Linked DNA regions of Homo sapiens: region 2 is linked to region 1. The links are contacts of gene promoters, found by promoter capture Hi-C in blood cells and fetal thymus (Javierre and others, 2016). All regions are on one chromosome and are shown on one strand. The core of a region is centred on a gene start or on the middle of the fragment in contact, and the rest is flanking DNA. Distances in the headings are between cores, read along the strand shown. Region 1 holds the start of PKD1L1 (polycystin 1 like 1, transient receptor potential channel interacting). Region 2 overlaps GRB10 (growth factor receptor bound protein 10).

The links. Contacts are between HindIII fragments. The CHiCAGO score rates a contact against its expected background, and 5 or more counts as called.
Region 2: a contact is called between a fragment that was not itself captured here and the fragment with the promoter of PKD1L1 in region 1, in 2 of 17 cell types (naive CD4 T cells and total CD4 T cells). The highest score is 7.0, in naive CD4 T cells.

What each region holds. Positions count from the first base shown.
Region 1 is chr7:47,947,108-47,949,925 of GRCh38, forward strand. PKD1L1 (polycystin 1 like 1, transient receptor potential channel interacting) reads right to left here and starts at 1,359. Exons shown (of 57, transcript NM_138295.5): 1 at 1,290-1,359. The coding sequence starts at 1,333. The HindIII fragment of the contact is 5,981 bases long and covers 1,254-2,818 here.
Region 2 is chr7:50,683,453-50,686,270 of GRCh38, forward strand. All of the region lies in intron 5 of GRB10 (growth factor receptor bound protein 10), which reads right to left. Among named protein-coding and RNA genes, the nearest start is that of GRB10, 98 kb to the right of the region's middle. The HindIII fragment of the contact is 3,820 bases long and covers 1-2,818 here.

The sequences.
Region 1 (2,818 bases), core at 109-2,608:
AATCAGACAATGCTTGGCAGCAGTGAGTGACATAAGGCAAAGAAATTTCCAAGCATGAATGTGACCAACCCCGTCAACACGTGCAGCCTCATTTTCTCATCCTGGTTTGCTTTGGGTTTCTTTGATAAAATGATGGTGATGGCACAAAGACAGTAAGCTAACAAAGGCAGAAATGCTGACAGCAAGCATTCATCAAGGATACTGATTTTTATAACGACCCTCTGGAGTTTACAGATGTGACAACAGGGGTACTCAGATTTTCAGGATGAGAAATCTGGGGGTGAGGAGGTAAAGTGACCTGCAGTGGCGGGGTACCCCACTGGGCAAGATCTGCAGGCACAGGCTCCCATCATGCCAGGCCAGGGGACAGCGGTGACCCACCTGGGTCCTTACCACATCCCACAGGCAGGTCACCTTGCTGGCCTCACGCCCAGGAAAGGGGGCATGGAGGTTTGCACCATGTCACACTGCCATGAGACAGTCAACAGCAGAGCACACAGGCTGCCCAGCCTCAACAACACATGGGTGCTGGCGCGCACAGAGCATGGGGAAGAGGGTTTAGAAATAAGACCCATGGAGGCTGGGTGCGGTGGCTTATGCCTGTAATCCCAGTACTTTGGGAGGCCAAGGCGGGCAGATCACAAGGTCAGGAGATCGAGACCATCCTGGCTAACACAGTGAAACCCCGTCTCTACTAAAAATACAAAAAATTAGTCGGGCGTGGTGGTGGGCGCCTGTGGTCCCAGCTACTTGGGAGGCTGAGGCAGGATAAATGGCATGAACCCAGGAGGCAGAGCTTGCAGTGAGCCAAGATCGCACCTCTGCACTCGAGCCTGGGCAACAGAGAGAGACTCCGTCTCAAAAAAAAAGAAATAAGACCCCTGGGCCAAGACCCCATGATCTCTTCCTGTGCCAGGTTTCTCCTGGTCTCCATGCAAGGGACCTAGCAGACAAGCAGATAGCTTAACTTTGTCTACTACCAGGCAGCAGAAAGTCCTCGAACTTGGAAGGTATCCTGCATTTGCAGGAAGAGCAATCAGCACTTCTCATGGCTGAAGGCATCCGCTTGGAGGAGTCTTCTCAAAAGCCTTCAGGAAAAAACTCCATTCTCAACACCAACTCCAACCTCTGAACTGACCCCGCCGGCCAAATGCACCCTCCTGGTACAGGGCCTCCACTCGTGCCAGAGTGAGCCCACATCCTAGAGGTGATGACTTTTGAAAGAAAATTTCTGAATGCATACTTTAAAATCAAGCTTACCAAACCCTCTGAGAACAGTGATAACTCACCTTTCCTGGTCATCAGAAATGTTCTGGGCTGCCTCCTCGGCCATGTCCTGTGCAAGCTGGTCACAAGTATGACAGTCAGCAGACCAGCTTCTTCCTACATCCTCTGGAAGACAAAGAAATAGAGCTTAATGCTTCCAGCTTCTGTACTTGTGACCTCTTATCAGGACACACATCAAACACAGAGGGAAAAATCCAAACTCCAGTAACATTTTCCCAAGCAGAAACAGCTTTTGTTTTCCTAACACTGTCAGACAAATTCCTTCCTAAGAAGTGTGCTTTTGACAGACGTGGTGGCTCATGTCTGTAATCCCAGCAATTTGGGAGGCCAAGGTGGGTGGATCACTTGAGGCCAGAAGTTTGAGACCAGCCTGGCCAATATGGTGAAACCCCGTCTCTACTAAAAATACAAAAATAGCCAAGTGTGGTGGCACACATCTGTAATCCCAGTTACCCAGGAGGCTCAGGCGAGAGAATTGCTTGAACCTAGGAGGTGGAGGTTGCAGTGAGACGAGATTGCACCACTGTGCAATAGAGTGAGACTCTGCCTCAAAAACAAAATGAAACAAAACAAAACAAAACAAAAGTGTGTTTTAGGTAGGGATCTTTGTGGCTGCCTGAAACAGATCACTACTCAAGGGAGAGACTGTACATGGAAGCTGAGAGAAGTCTGAGAATAAAAAGCTGTAACTGTTGGCTGGGCGCGGTGGCTCACGCCTATAATCCCAACACTTTGGGAGGTCGAGGTGGGCGGATCACGAGGTCAGGAGCTCGAGACCAGCCTGGCCAGCATAGTGAAACCCCGTCTCTACTAAAAATACAAAAATTAGCCAGGCATGGTGGCACGCACCTGTAGTCCCAGCTACTCGGGAGGCTGAGGCAGGAGAATTGCTCGAAACCGAGAGGCGGAGGTTGCAGTGAGCCGAGATCGTGCCACCACACTCCAGCCTGGGCAACAGAGCGAGGCTCTGTCTCAAAAAAAAAAAAAAAAAAAAAAAGCTGTAACTGTCCACAACTGCACTGGGGAACAGGATACCTTCCACAAGAGCAGAAGAGCATTCCTAAGGAAGGCTGGCAAGGCACACACTAGGCGCACTCTGTCTTACGGCAGAACCTAGGAATGATCTGGTTCCGAACCTCCTGCACCTCTCCTTGTTTGCAACTGGCGGGTCAGACTGAGTTCTCTCCATTACGAAACATTTTCTCTTATATTTTTAAAGCACTTGTTAGTTGTCTTAGTTCTTTATACCAACATTTAAACCTTCAGAGATTTTAGAAAACTTAATGTTTTACTCAGAACACTAGATATTTTTTCTCTCCACTCTGAAGAGAGTGATACCAAGAAGAGTGGGAACGTTTTCAGGCACAAGCTCTTTCTCAGATGGGAACACAGACCCCTTGAACAATGATGAACCAAGCTACGGGTGTCCGGCCTTGGATCCTGTGTTTTCTGGAACTTTGCTGCCAATGAGGTGAGTAACCAGAGCCCTGTGGTGGGTTAAGGGGCCTGCTGTTGACCTAACACACCTGTC
Region 2 (2,818 bases), core at 120-2,619, 2.7 Mb after region 1:
TGGGCTGGGAGCAGTGGCTCACGCCTGTAATCCCAGCACTTTGGGAGGCCGTGGCGGGTGGATCACCTGAGGTCAGGAGTTCGAGACCAGCCTGATCAACATGGCGAAACCCTGTCTCTATTAAAAATACAAAAATTAGCCAGGTGTGGTGGTGTGCACCTGTAATCCCAGCTATTCAAGAGCCTGAGGCAGGAGAATCGCTTGAACCCGGGAGGTGGACATTGCAGTGAGCTGAGATCATGCCACTGCATTCCAGCCTGGGTGACAGAGCGAGACTCCATCTCAAAAAAAATAAATAAAAAACAAAAAATAAAAAATAATGGTAAGGGTGGTAAATTGTGTTAGGTATATTTTACCACAATTAAAAATAATAATTAAAAAACAAACGCAGTTTTTAAATTGAATTGTTCCCAGGTTACCCTCCAGGTGATGCCAAGCAGATTGGCTTGTTAAAGGACCAGGACAAGGCTAGTCATTTCCTAAGTTACACTAAACATAGATTCCTCTTCCTAGAAAAATAAGAATTTTCAGTATAAATGTGTATGCTTCCCCACCAATCCTGCAGAACATGGCAGGTGGGATTTTAAAAAACTGTTTATCTTTAATGACACATGCAAAGTGCCGCCGCCAGTGGAGGCTCATTAAATTAAACTTATAAAAATGTAGAAAGTCTATCTCCTTTTACACACAGCTGGGCCAACAGCCCCTCACCCATTTCCCCAGGACAACTGGTAGCAAAGGCTAAAGTCTAGGACAAACTTCAGAATCAAATGCAGATAGCCTGGCGGCCAGACAACTGCAACTCAATCATCACCAAAAAAAAAAAAAAAAAAAAAGGTAAGGTAATAATTAATCACTCTGTACTTTGATTCCAGTGAGATTTTTTTTTTAATTGTGGTTTAGGGAGTTGTACAATAATTATATTTAAAAAAAATAAGGAAAGCAATTCATCTTAGCGATTTCATCAAAGACCTGGCATCCAATGTTCAGTGAGCATCCCCTAGAAAAGCATGTAAAGTTTCCTTTTCCTTGGTTTCATCCTGCTACACTGCTGCAAGGAAGCACCTGGGCATTACTAAGATCCCGTCAGGCCCTTTATGACTGCCTGGACTCTGCACCATAGAGCCTATACAACACAGGAAAACAAATTTTCCACTACCAAAACATTACAGCCTGCCCAGCAAGAACCAAAAACCTAAGCTAAAACTGCATTTAATATGCACAGATTCAGCTAAGCAATTTCTATCTGTACTACTCAAAAGACACTTCGGGAGTGACAGAGAAACATACCCACAAAATATTACTCAAAAAGAGCAAAGGATTAACTGTATCTTTCCCAAGTCTTCCTTAGCCATTTGATCTGTTTCCTCTCAGGCTTTTTATTTCAATTCCTAACTCTTCTATTACATCACAAGTCACGGAGAAGCAGAAGTACAAGAAACTATATAAATAACTTGTCATTCTGGAAGGTTCTCATTTTCCATGAACCCTAAAAATATTAGCCCGAGAACACTGGAACTGAAGAGGGAAAATCCAGGTTATGGTCCAAATTTCTGTCACTCACTAGCACTGTGCTCTCTCAGAAAGTCCATTTTTTAAAGGTAAATTAGACACCGGGGAATCTTTACCATCACATCCAATGTTAACACTCTATGATTCTGTGGATTTAACTCCATAAATTTAAAATCCATTCATTTACCCGATATTTTTCTTCATTCAACAAATATTTGCTGAACACTAACTACATCACTTCAGGTATTGGAAATACAGATGTTAACAAAACAGAGACAAATCCCTGCCACCTCGATGCAGTGACGTCTTAAGCAACGATCTTTGGAAAAGGATTTACAAGGCTAAATATAACATAGCAAGAAAGGACAGGAAACTGTTTTTACTACTTCTGGAAAAATAATTCCCTCCACAAAGAAGCTAAAACCTGCTTCAGTTAAGTGGCAACTAAAGGAGAGACGAGGGGGTGGACATATCCCGTAGGAAAGAGTGGGCACCCAAGGGCAAGGGGTACTGGAGCCCGAAGGAGGGATCCCAAGCCCCAGCGTTCTGCAAGAGAGGTGAAGGATGAGTGGGAAGTCAAGGGAAGTGCAGAGTCGAGTACAGTGTGCGTCCTCAGATGAAGAGTTTCTTGGCAGAGTTCATGACGCTCCCAGTTTATAAAAGTATCCCAGAGGCCAGAAATTCTCCTAGGATGGTTATGCACACTGCTTGGCAGAGAGAAGAGTTTTAAAATGAGATCTCTGTTTACAGACAAGACAGTCAAGTAGAGGGCATTCAGCTCTAAAAAGAGCCTGAATTCTAAGGCATCAGGATGAGAAAAGTCATTCTAGGAGAACAGTACCAGGCGATTCCAAGAAATGGCAGTTCTCCAAAAACTGAAATGCCCAGGAGAGAGGAGCTGGTTTTCCAGAATGTGGATGGAAATGCAGTGTAACCAGAAAAACAGGACACTCCAGATGGGCCTTAAGGGGCAGATGATCTAGAGCTGTAACCCTCAAACCGCCAGATGCATGGGGCCACCTAGGAACTTCTGGGGTGGGAAAACCAGTTCCTGAGATGCACCTGGCATTCTGATTCCCAGTCTCCGGGGGTGGGCTCAGAAAACGAACAGAGTTCCTGTTAGGGTCTGAATATCTGTGTTCTCCCAAAATTCATGTGTTGAAATCCTAACCTCTACAGTGAAGGTATTAGGAGGTGGGGCCTTTGGGAGGTGATTGGGTCATTGGGGTAGAACCCAAATGATGGAATTCGTGCCCTTATAAAGCCCTGGAGAGACCCTTCCCCATTCCACCATGTGAGGACACGG